2 separate regions of the Homo sapiens genome follow, and region 1 is linked to region 2. The links are contacts of gene promoters, found by promoter capture Hi-C in blood cells and fetal thymus (Javierre and others, 2016). All regions are on one chromosome and are shown on one strand. Each heading gives the region's core, a stretch centred on a gene start or on the middle of the fragment in contact. The rest is flanking DNA. Distances are from core to core; before and after follow the strand shown. Region 1 overlaps YARS2 (tyrosyl-tRNA synthetase 2). Region 2 holds the start of ERGIC2 (ERGIC and golgi 2).

Region 1 (6,162 bases), core at 2,143-4,642, 3.4 Mb before region 2:
GGCCAAGATACCAGTTCTGGATTTGATCTACATTTAGTACAGTGCCAACCATATCTAAACCGGCTTTTTGTGGAACTTGACAAGCTCATTGTAACACTGACATAGAAATAAAAAGGGCTAAGATTGGCCAAGATGTTTTTGAAGAACAGAGTGGAAGATTATCATGCCTTATTACAAAATTTTGGTAATTGTGTTTTTTTCTCTTTAGATTTAGTCCTAGAATGTTTGACGATATAGTCCTGGGGTTTTGATGTATTGAGAATTGATAATCTTTTTTTTTTTTTTTTTTTTTTTTTGAGGCAGTGTCTCACTTTGTTGCCCAGGCTAGAGTGTAGTGGCATGATCTTGGCTCATTGCAACCTCCGCCTCCTGGGTTCAAGTGATTCTCCTGAGTAGCTAGGACTACAGGCATGCGCCACCATGCCCAGCTAATTTTTGTATTTTTGTAGAGGCAGGGTTTCGCCATGTTGGCCAGGCTGGTCTCGAACTCCTGACCTCAAGTGATCCACCTTCCTCAGCCTCCCAAAGTGCTGGGATTACAGGCTTGAGCTACCGCACCCGGCCTAGAGAATTTAGATAATCTTTTCAAAAATTGCATTTTCTATCTGGTTCTGGTGTATAGAAATACAATTACTTTATATATATTACCTTTAAATCTAGCAACTCTGCCAAACTCACTATTTGATTACAGACGTGAGCCACTGCGCCCGGCCCAATACTGTATTTCTTGACCATGGTGATGGTTACATAGATGTTTTATGATTCATTAAGCTATATCTTTGTGAATAATGTACTTTTTTCTGTGTGTTATATATATTTCACCAAAGAAAAAGAGAATACATATAGGATGATATTATAGTCATATATCACTTAACAATAGGGATACATTCTGGGAAGTGTGTTGTTAGGTGATTTCATCATTGCAAATATCGTAGAGTGTCCCTGCACAAACATAGATAGCATAGCCTACTACACACTTAGGCTATACAGTGTACCCTGTTGCTCCCAGGGTAGAAGCACATACAGCACATTACTGTACTAAATACTGAAGGCAGTGATAACGCGAGGGTAAGTATTTGTATACGTAAACATAGAAAAAGTACAGTAAACTATGGTATTATAATGTTATGAACCACTGTTGGACTGTACCAGTCCGTGGCCTGTTAGGAACAGGGCTGCGCAACAGGAGCTGAGTGGCAGGCGAGCGAGCATTACACCTGGGCTCCATCTCCTGTCAGATCCACGGTTGCATTAGATTCTCATAGGAGCACAAACCCTATTGTGAACTGCGCATGCAAGAGATCTAGGTTGCGCATTCCTTTTGAGGATCCAACAAATGCCTGATGATCTGAAGTGGAACAGTTTCATTCTGAAACCACCTCCCCTCCCCGCCGCCTCGTGGTGCCAAAAAGGTTGGGGACCGCGGATATATGTAGTCCATCATTGACAGAAACATCATTATGCAGAGCATGATGATTTATATCAGTTTTTAAAATTACACAGTACTTTTTTTTTATGGCCACATGCACATGAAAGTATAAAAACATGCTTGGGAAAGATGGCAGCACATAAACTTAGATTTATGATTATCTCGGGGCAAGGAAGGGAATGTGATTGGACTGCGGCCTTCATCTATGCCTATTTTGTTCCTTTTAAAAAGAAAATACGAGGCTGGGCTTGGTGGCTCCTGCCCATAATCCCAACACTTTGGGAGGCTGAGACAAGAGGATCACTTGAGCCCAGGAGTTTGAGACCAGCCTGGGCAACACAGGAGACCCCGTCTTTACAAAAAAAATATAAAAATTAGCCAGGCGTGGTGGCACAAGCCTGTGGTCCCGGCTGCTTGGGAGGCAGAGGTGGTAGAATTGCTTGAGCCCAGGAGGTTGAGGTTACAGTGAGCCATGATCATGCCACTGCACTCCAGCCTGGGCAACAGCAAGACCCCCATCTCAAAAAAAAAAAAAAGAAATTGAAAACAAAGATGCCAAAATAGTAACACCTTAAATCTGGGTGATGTGTGCATGGGACCTACTATGTTCAGTACATTTCTGTATGTTTGTTTCATATTTAAAAGTAAGCAGGATAACCTTAAAGGGTAGAAGAGCTGGAGATAAAAATTAGGTATGTTATATAAGTGTAACTCTTTATTTTTTGTCTCAAAGGTACCTGAAGCTGTTCACTTTCCTGCCCCTTCCAGAGATTGATCATATCATGCAGCTGCATGTCAAAGAGCCAGAAAGGCGGGGTCCTCAGAAACGACTGGCAGCAGAAGTAACAAAGCTTGTTCATGGACGAGAAGGATTGGATTCTGCTAAAAGGTAGTAGTTTAGTATGATTAACACTTGATAGTTAGTTATTCAGTGGATAGACATGAGAAAAGTAGGAGTATGTTTTAGGATTATCTTGTCATTTATCACAAGGACTGTCAGTATTTGACTTAGCAATTTAAAATAGCCCCTGTTTATTGGAAAGAAGGATTATCTTGAATTAAGTTTATGAATTATACCAGATAGATGTTTAAAAAACTTTTAGTCTATGCCGGGCGCGGTGGCTCACGCCTGTAATCCCAGCACTTTGGGAGGCCAAGGTGGGCTGATCACGAGGTCAGGAGTTCGAGACCAGCCTGACCAACATGGTGAAACCCCCATCTCTACTAAAAATACAAAACTTAGCTGGGCGTGGTGGCACACGTCTGTAATCCCAGCTACTCAGGAGGCTGAGGCAGGAGAATCGCCTGAACCCGGGAGGCAGAGGTTGCTGTGAGCCGAGATCATGCCATTGCAATCCAGCCGGGGCAACAGAGCGAGACTCCATCTCAAAAAAAAACTTTTAGTCTAGAACTTGGACACTCTATAATTGGTTAATGGGTATTAGAACATGTATTTGAATAAACATTTATATGATGTAGCTCTTAAAATGTGTTTTTCAGGTGTACACAAGCCCTTTATCACAGTAGCATAGATGCACTGGAGGTCATGTCTGATCAGGAGTTAAAAGAGTTGTTTAAAGAAGCTCCATTTTCTGAATTTTTTCTCGATCCTGGAACAAGTGTCCTAGATACTTGCCGCAAAGCAAATGCCATTCCAGATGGTCCCCGAGGGTAAGATTATTTAACTTTTAGATTTACAGTTAATTCACCATTAAATGTTACAGTTCACAAGGCCAGGAGAAGTGGCTCATGCCTGTAATCACAGCACATTGGGAGGCCGAGGCGGGCAGATCACGAGGTCAGGAGATCGAGACCATCCTGGCTAACACGGTGAAACCCTGTCTCTACTAAAAATACAAATTAGCCGGGCATGGTGGCAGGCGCCTGTAGTCCCAGCTACTTGGGAGGCTGAGGCAGGAGAATGGCATCAACCCGGGAGGCAGAGCTTGCAGTGAGCGGAGATCCCACCACTGCACTCCAGCCTGGGTGACAGAGCAAGACTCTGTCTCAAAAAATAAATAAAATGTTACAGTTCACAGCATGTGTTTCCAGAGAGGATGTTTTCCTGATAGTGCTTTAGTGGCATCTCTTCCTTAGAAAAGTTAGTTTAGTCCAAGAATAAAGTATAGCCTGAGAGTACTTATTGTTGAAAATACTTTATATTTTCTATAATAGTACAGTACTCCTATACTGTCTCTTATTATATCTAACCCAGTCAGTCTTTCCTCCAACACTGGAAAAGTGCATTTGAGGGACATGTTCAGTAAATACACTGGCATCAGTGTACGGCTTAGGGATATGGTCACAGTTTTAGAGGGATGCAGAAACAGAGGCCCTATGTAACAGATTAACACAGCCCCTCTCATAGTCTGTATCCTTTTTATATTCGGGGATGGGAAAGGTTACCTAACCTATCTATAGTATTAACTGAATTTCTGAAAATGAAATGAGCATATAATGGCCAAAACCGCAAGTACTTTTGCACTAACCTACTAACGTCATAAGACTATTATTGTAAACTATATAATAATCCCCTTGAGAATTGCATTTTCTATTCAGGAATTGAGTAGAATATTTTAATTAATCAGTTATGAGGTATTAAGGAGTAAATAAGGTTTTTCACAAAAAATAATTCAGCATATAATTGATGCTTATCCATTTTTAAATGAACAGTGAGGTGGAAGGAAAAGTGTTGGGTAGCCAGAAGACCCCCAGGTGCCTCTTTTGCAGGAGTTCACACAGAAGTCAAATGGTTATCGGCCATATCATGGCCATGATTATGAATGACATTTGTTATAGTTGTTCTCTTTCAACTGTCTTGGATTGTTTGCCTGTGTCCTAAAGAGTCCTAGACTATTCTGCCTGGAAAAAGCACCCATTGTCTCCCTTTGCATCACCTGCCACTCCACCTTAGTGATTCCCTCATCTGCTGGTTTAACACACAGTGAATTTGAGGCTGGTGTCATATACTTCCCTGTAGTATGTCAGCGAGACAAATAATTTTCCTCACTATGGAAGCAGATTTCGTTTTCTTCTGAACTTTACTATAGTGTGTTCGCTAATACTGGAAGCTTTACCACTACTAAAAATGACACCACATCTGATTTAGCCAGGGCTCTAAGTAATACTGATTTTTTTTTTTAATATTATATAAGCTAAATAGGTTTGGTGCATTTAAATTAAACATAGAACATGATCTGGAAACTAGCAGACAGCGTAAAATAATACTTCCTAAAAGAAAGGAATCTGGCCTTAAGTAGAAAATATTTTACTGATGAGTTTTATAAAACCATGTCCATGGCCAGGTATGGTGGCTCACATTTGTAATCCCAGCACTTCGGGAGGCTGAGGGCGGGAGGATTGCTTGGGGCCAGGAGTTCAAGATCTGTGTGGGCAAGGACGTAGTGAGACTCCGTCTCTACCCAAAAATAAAGGTATAAAAATATCTTTAAAACCATGTCCAGTAGTGGTTTCTTAATTTTATTTGGTAACATTCAGATGAGAGAAAACCACCATTTTTCTTTCTTAAGGACTTCCAAGATCTAGCCACGCTGTAGCCCTGTCTTCTCAGATCTCACCTCTTTCTAGCTGCTCCCATGTTTCCTGCCCTGATTGTCAAGGTAGCTTCACTCCCAGTTTAAGTATCTCTTTTTTCAGTGAAATGTTCAGCCCTCACCTACCCAGTGTGCTCCTAGAACAACTTCTCCTAGGTCTTTCTTTTTTTTTCTTGAGACGGAGTCTTTAAAAGAGCAGATTGCAAGGCGTAAATTCCGGCCAGACACAGTGGTTCACACCTGTAATCCCAGCACTTTGGGAGGCCAAGGCAGGTGGATCACTTGAGGTTGGGAGTTTGAGACCAGCCTGGCTAACATGGCGAAACCCATCTCTACTAAAAATACAAAATTAGCCAGGTGTGGTGGCATGCACCTGTAATCGCAGCTACTCTGGAGGCTGAGGCAGGAGAATCACTTAGAACACAGGAGGCGGAGGTTGCAGTGAGCTGAGATCATGCCAGCCTGGGCTACAGAGCAAGAATGTGTTTCAAAAACAAACAACAAAAAACAAAGAGCAGTAAAGAGAGGCAGAATCTATTAATAATAGAGCAAACATGAAGGTAACAGTCCAGTGCCAAATGAAATCTTCTCAATTGGAGAGCCTCTGAAATCTAAGTGAAACAGTCTTTTTTGGGGGACAGATCAACAGTGATTGGATCTCTCTACTTACTAAACGTTTCTATTTTTTAGGTATCGAATGATAACAGAAGGCGGAGTCAGCATAAATCACCAACAAGTAACAAATCCTGAGAGTGTTTTAATTGTTGGACAACATATTCTCAAGAATGGACTTTCCTTACTTAAAATAGGAAAAAGAAATTTCTACATTATAAAATGGCTTCAGTTGTGATGAAAAGTCCTTCTGGTTGTCCAAATAAACTTACCCATCATTCATTCTCAAGACCTCTGAAGGGTTGGCTCCAGAACTTAGACCTTTGCTTATGCAAATCAGAAAAACAGAATGGACTAGGACTCAGTGTGAGTAACTTCATTATTTTTATGGGCCGGTTAATAAATATTTGTTTAATAATGGGATGTTTTATTTTCTGATGTACAAAGCTTGATTACCATAGAAAACCATGATTTTCAGGGTTAATCTCTTTTTAAAATTATACTTCAGAAGAGAAAGAAATGCTGCTTTCCTATCTTACCCTTCCTGCTCTCCTTTTTGTAGTGATG
Region 2 (6,938 bases), core at 2,978-5,477:
CGTCAGTGAGACCAAGAACCCACCAATTCCAGACACATTTTGGCGACCCAGATGGGACCTTCGCCAATCACCAAGCAGTAAGACCATCGCCTATTGCTGAGCGGTGAGACAATCACCTATTGCCAAGCAGTGAGTACCATCGGACCCCTTTAGCTTGCTATTCTGTCCTATCTTTCCTTAGAATTTGGGGGCTAAATACCGGGCACCTGTTGGCCAGTTAAAAGCGACTAGCGTGGCCACCGGACTAAAGACACGGGTGTCAGGTTTTCTGGGAAAGGGCTCTATAACAACCCCCGACTCTTCGGAGTTGGGACCATTGTTTTCCCTAGAACCAGCTTCTGCTTTTCCAGTACTTCTGGGCTGAGCCGAGGGTCGACAGAGAGGAAAGCCATGCAGCTCTGGGGTCCCGACAACAAGTTGGTTGACCCTGCGGCCATGAGCAGAACTCTCAAAAGCATGTCGCCCAAGCGAGACTCGCCCATCTATCCTATCTATCCTGACCCTTGCCCCCTGGGTCCTAATGCCTGTCAGACAAACTTCCTCTTGCCTCTCTTCTCTGAGGTTAGTCCCGCTTCTAAAAATTGCTACCGTCTCTGGTGCTTTTCTAGTTTCTCCTATAAGAATGATTTCTAGTATAAACTCCAGGACTCTGTTACCTTCTTTAGGCACCCGGGCTCACCAATCAGAAAGACATAATTTTTGCCCAAAGCCCCATCGTAGTGGGGACTACCTGGAATTTTAGGATCCCTCCTCAGACTAACAGGCCTAACAAAAGCTATTCCTGAAGCTAGGATATGGGGAGCCTCAGAAATTATATCCTTCCTATTCATATAAGTGAGGACAAAAGGTGTCACTCTTCCAAACCTGGAGATCCCTTCCCTCCCTCAGGGTATGGCCCTCCACTTCATTTTTGGGGCATAACATCTTTATAGGACAGGGGTAAAGTCCCAGTACTAACAGGAGAATGCTTAGGACTCTAACAGCTTTTCGAGAATGCGTCGGTAAGGGCCACTAAATCGATTTTTCTCAGTTGGTCCCCCTTGTGGCCTAGGAGGACAGGCAAGGGTGCAGGTTTTCGAGAATGCGTCGGTAAGGACCGCTAAATCTGACTTTCCTTGGTCCTCCATGTGGTCTGGGAGGAAAACTAGTGTTTCTGCTGCTGCGTTGGTGAGCGCAACTATTCCGATCAGCAGGGTCCAGGGACTGTTGCGGGTTCTTGGGCAGGGGTTGTTTCTGCTGCTGTGTTGGTGAGCGCAACTATTCTGATCAGCAGGGTCCAGGGACCGTTGTAGGTTCTTGGGCAGGGGGAGAAACAAAATAAACCAAAACGCGGCAGTTTTGTCTTTCAGATGGGAAACACTCAGGCATCAACAGGCTCACCCTTGAAATGCATCCTAAGCCATTGGGACCAATTTGACCCACAAACCCTGAAAAAGAGGCGGCTCATTTTTTTCTGCACTACGGCTTGGCCCCAATATTCTCTCTCTGATGGGGAAAAATGGCCACCTGAGGGAAGTACAAATTACAATACTATCCTGCAGCTTGATCTTTTCTGTAAGAGGGAAGGCAAATGGAGTGAAATACCTCATGTCCAAGCTTTATTTTCATTGAGGGAGAATACACAACTATGCAAAGCTTACAATTTATATCCCACAGGAGGATCTCTCAGCTTATCCCCATATCCTAGCCTCCCTATAGCTCCCCTTCCTATTAATGATAATCCTCCTCTAATCTCCCCTGGCCAGAAGGAAACAAGCAAGGAAATCTCCAAAGGACCACAAAAAACCCCGGGCTATTGGTTATGTCCCCTTCAAGCTATAGCGGGAGGGGTATTTGGCCCAACCCGGGTACATGTCCCCTTCTCCCTCTCTGATTTAAAGCAGATCAAGGCAGACCTGGGGAAGTTTTCAGATGATCCTGATAGGTACACAGATGTCCTACAGGGTCTAGGCAAACCTTTGACCTCACTTGGAGAGATGTCATGCTACTGTTAGATCAAACCCTGGCGTTTAATGAAAAGAATGCGGCTTTAGCTGCAGCCCAAGAGTTTGGAGATACCTGGTATCTTAGTCAAGTAAATGACAGAATGACAGCCGAAGAAAGGGACAAATTCCCGACTGGTCAGCAAGCCATCCCCAGTATGGATCCCCACTGGGACCTTGACTCAGATCATGGGGACTGAAGTCATAAACATCTGTTGACCTGTGTTCTAGAAGGACTAAGGAGAATTAGAAAAAAGCCCATGAATTATTCAATCGAACTAGAGAAAGAAAAAAATGGCACAAAAACACCTTTTGATCATCTTTACTAAATACAGGTTGTTATGGAACAATTATTAATCTCAGTCTAAAACCTATCTTATGCGGGTAATACATAATGGACTTTTTAAAGCAAATTGTTTTTCAGACATAACGCCACTGATAACACAAGATTAAGTATCTATCTCTTTTTAAAGATGATCCTGATAGGTACATAGATGTCCTACAGGGTCTAGGGCAAACCTTTGACCTCGCTTGCAGAGATGTCGTGCTACTGTTAGATCAAACCCTGGCCTTTAATGAAAAGAATGCGGCTTTAGCTGCAGCCCGAGAGTTTCAATCTTCAGGGGAAATTAAGTTCCCTCTTCACTGGGTAGATTAGAAAATGGTGAGTTGTTTTCTAAATAAGAAGGATCAAATTAGTCAGTTTTGCTACACTGGGAAATCCAACTCTCATGGGATAGTTGTTACCCTGAAAGTAGGTTATCCAGGAGATGAGGGATCAGATGTAACTAAGTGAACAACAGCCAGCCTCCATCCAAGCAAGAGCCCATATTCACAAAGAAGGAAGAGTTGCTGATGCCTTTACGGCAAAGATTAAAAAAAGGCATTTTAGATGTATATTAATTTACTTAATCCTCGTAACAACTCTGAGATATTATCATGCCCATTTTACAGATGAGCAAATGGAGACACAAAGAGATGAAATAATGTGGTCAAGGTTACATGCTAGTAAGTTGCTGATCTGGAATTCTAACCCAGGAAGTCCTGTCTCCAGTGTCTATGATTTCACCCACTACACTATACTTCTTAAGCATGTCAAGAAAGTGAGAACTTTAAATTGATTTAATTAGACTAACTCTGAAAGTCTGAAAATAAAATTGATTCATTGGAAACTTTTCATCAGTCCTTATTTTGGGGGATATTCAATTTAGTGAAATTTAGTATTTCAGTAAAGGTTAATTCACTACATAAAACAATGTGATTTTTTTCCTTTGAGGCACAGTTTAGTATTGTGATCAAGATTTCCCTGACTCTCCCAGCGGTCTGAATTTGGGTAAATCACTTCACTACCCCTTGACTCAAATTCCGTATTTATAAAACAGGTAAATACTGGTATTATCTTCTAAGAGTGTTGTGAGGATACGCAGATTTTTTAAAAAAGCAGTTAAAGCCTTTAAACAGTAATTATAAGCAGTTGTCATAATTATGCCGTTGTTAGACTTCTAGGTCAATGAATCAGAAAATTTAAATCTCAATGTTTGATTATAAAATCTGGTAACAGATGGGTGAAAAGGAACCTGGAATGGGTTTACTCTCCAGGAGTTCACATTTAACTTTTCTTTCCGAAGTTCCGTCTATTAACTCCTGTTCTATGAAGTGGTAGAAAAAGATGAGGTATTAATTTTCTTTCTTAACAAATATTTGAAGGCATAGTTGGTGTTGGCGAAGGGAGATGAGGAAGACATATGTGCTTTCTTATGATATTAAAACCTGGAAGACAATAAAAACGCTGATCAAATAATAAAAAGCGTTACCTATGGCGGAAAAGGAAGCTCAAATGTTCTTGTCAGGGGAAAACGACACAAAAACTGAAAGAGGGAAACAAAACAATTGCACAGGTGATATGCATTAGGGTTGTTAGGGATAATTTCTGCGCCCAAGGCTCTTATTAGTAATGAAATACGGTGTGAGGAGCTGAGATTCGTTCTGCAGTCTCAGTGTTAGTCGGAAAGTAACCCCTCCCTTCCCATAGAAACAGAACCGGACTGGCGGCGCGATTACACCTAAAACAAGTTGCAACCTCATTTCCCTGTAGGCACGCCTCTTTTATCTTAACCACGCCTCTTCATTCCCTAAGCACGTCGTAAGCAAAGGGAATATCGCGAGATCTGTACATTGTCTCTTTTCTGACGTTTTCAGCTGTGATAGTCGCTTTTGTTCTCGCGATATTTCCGGGTACGCGGGAGCCCCGGCGACCCGGGCTTCTGTGAAACATGGCGGTAGGCTGGGACCATAACACAAGGTAAAATACTGAAACACCGCTGGGTGCTGTTCCCTCGGTTGTTCCAGGGCTGTTTAGGGCGTAAATGCAATTGAGGGAACTGGGAGCCTGTCATGGGCTTGGCTTCCTGTCTTCATTGATCTCTAGAGAGCCGGTCGGACGGAGAAGCCGCTCCACCTCCCACGGGGGCGTTACTGGCAGGACCCTAGGCAACGATGCTACTGGGAGCTTCCCTTTGCCAGGTCCGGGTGCTTGTGTGCTATCCTGCAACTCGAAGGAGTTCAGGTGCTTCCTCGATCGCACCTGATTCTGACCCTTTGCTTGTCACAGTGCCCGGTTCCCAGGTGGTTTCTCCAGTCCGCAGGCGAGTAGGATCCCAATCGGTCGAGTCCCAGTCCTCCCGGATGTCAGACTCCCTACCCCCATTCAGACAAATGCCACATTCGTGGCAGCACGTTGCCCTCTGTCTCTTTAAGAGTCTTGGCCTTGCCCGGAAGGAGTTTCGCACAGTGCTTCGGAAAATGAGAAGGGGGCGGGGGAGGGCGAGATGCTGAGAGACAGGTTCGACTGTCACTACTTTTCCTCGGCGCAGGAAACCTTCCGAAGGCAACGTGTCAACTCGTGGTGGAGAATAGCCTTGTTTATCTGTAGTATATAGAGTTGACAGGTCATTGTTTGAGAAAACACGTTTAAATAACTTTTATATTTTAGTGCCCCCGAGACTTAAAGACAAAGTGGCATAATAGCTGTTAAAATGTTGCCAGACTGGTTTTCAGAAGCAATGAAAGTTACAGTTAAAAACAGGATTTATTCATTTGAAGTTGTAATTCAGTATTTCAGTTAATTGCCTAGCCTGATACATTGGACTCCAGTATACAGCAATTATAAAGAATGAGCCTGGCTTGTTCACTGAAAAAAGACATGGTTATTTACCTAATTTGTTTGTTGATATCTTTAAGTTGTTGTAATTATGCCAGTTCTAGTGGAAAACATGAGGAAAAAAATTCTGATTTTTTGGGAGGGTGGGGGTTGGCGGTGCAGGGATGGATAGAGAGAGGAGGATTTTTTTTTTTTTTTTAAATGATGGTGAACTTTAGTATACAGTTGCGTGTTATAATGGCTTCCTGGTACAAATCATAAAAATATATCAAGTTTGAAAGATCTCTCAAAGGAAATCAGGCCTAGTCTGGAACAACGAGAGTTAGGGAAACAACAACAACCACCCACACATTTTCTTTCTTTGGGGATTGATGATTTAAGTGAAAGAAATGGCTATTTTTTTTTTCTTTACCAGAAGTTACTTTTAGGCAGTCAGTGCCTGCTAAAAATCCTATTTAATAGTTTCCCAATATTTATTGTAATTCTGCCTCTTAATGTCATAGTGGTCAAATTATTTAACCTCTCTGTGCCTTAGTTCCTTCATCGGCCAAATGAAATAATGATACTTAACTCATAGGAAGGTTGTGAGGATTGAATGTGTTGAAACATACAAAGCATTTAGAACAATACCTGGCACACAGTAAACACTCAATGCATGTTAGCTCTTGTTATTTTTTATTTTCATTTTCTAACATCTGTAGTTACAAATGTTGCCTTGTTACTTAGTCAAAATGTAGACTGAAGAAGATATTGTTTAAAATAATATCTTTCTGAACTCCAGATTGATTAAACACTCTGATTGGTGTGGTTAATGTGTCCTTAAACTCCCATTATCCAGTTGCTTGTTTTCTTAAATTATTATCCTCTTTTAATGACTAAAGCATAAGTTCTTCCTTTCTATTGCTCTATATAGTCACGTTGTAGTGTGGCTCAGATCTACCCTCTGAGTGCCTTATTAACCCCCATACTCTTTGCTTTTGAGAACATTCATTCTATTGTAAATATATTTCATGTGTCCCTGACCTTTTCCTTAATACTTTTTAACTTTAATTTTCTATACTTTTATTGAGAGCTACTATAGTCTAGTTGTTCTTTGAGGAGGATTATACTTGTCCTTGCTTCACATTGCTACTAGGCACTTTTAAGGTTATTCTGTTATCACTCTATAGTCTCTCTTAACTTTTAGTCTTATCAGTTTATGCCATCCTAACTTCAGGAGATTGTCAACTAACCTCACATACTCTCCCACTTTCCTCAAAGACTTTAACAACTAAATCTCAAATATCCTACAAATCTTTGCTTTTTTTCAGAGAATTAGAAATAGATATTACATGCCTCATTTTTATCTTAACACTGTGAGGTAGCCATTATGTCCTGCTGCCCATCTTTTAAAATAAAATTATGGAGAGAGGATTCTAAGAAGTTGAGTATCTTTCCACACTTGTCACACAACTAGTAAGTGCCTAGGTAATCAGGGTTTTCTGATTATAAACTCACATTTATATTGTCTTCCTTGGCTTCCAAGTAAACCTTTCTGTCACTTAGAATGTCATTAGGTTTATTTGAATTATGTTGGGGTAAACAAACATAATATTTAACTCTGTTGTAAAAGGTCCAAATTTTAAGGTAAAAATAAGTACAATTGAGGGGGTTGGGGGGTTGCTATCTAGTATTTGCAAAGTAAAGCTAAGCTATCTTATAAAATGTTTTTTATTGTAAAGTATTCTAATGCAATATAATCAAGTAATTTAAAATTACAGATAGGTTGTAGTTTTACCTTTTATTTCTGATATTCA

The links. The method cuts DNA at HindIII sites, captures the fragments that hold promoters and counts their contacts. A CHiCAGO score of 5 or more calls a contact.
Region 1: a fragment that was not itself captured here is called in contact with the fragment with the promoter of ERGIC2 in region 2 in 3 of 17 cell types (naive CD4 T cells, activated CD4 T cells and non-activated CD4 T cells); the score reaches 5.5 in naive CD4 T cells.

The regions. Positions count from the first base shown.
Region 1 is chr12:32,746,875-32,753,036 of GRCh38, reverse strand. YARS2 (tyrosyl-tRNA synthetase 2) reads left to right here. Exons shown (of 5, transcript NM_001040436.3): 3 at 2,163-2,318; 4 at 2,930-3,100; 5 at 5,674-6,162. The coding sequence ends at 5,833. Among named protein-coding and RNA genes, the nearest start is that of YARS2, 5.9 kb to the left of the region's middle. The HindIII fragment of the contact is 2,220 bases long and covers 2,283-4,502 here.
Region 2 is chr12:29,378,461-29,385,398 of GRCh38, reverse strand. ERGIC2 (ERGIC and golgi 2) reads left to right here and starts at 4,227. Exons shown (of 14, transcript NM_016570.3): 1 at 4,227-4,284. RefSeq lists an enhancer at 4,495-4,664. The HindIII fragment of the contact is 7,270 bases long and covers 1,638-6,938 here.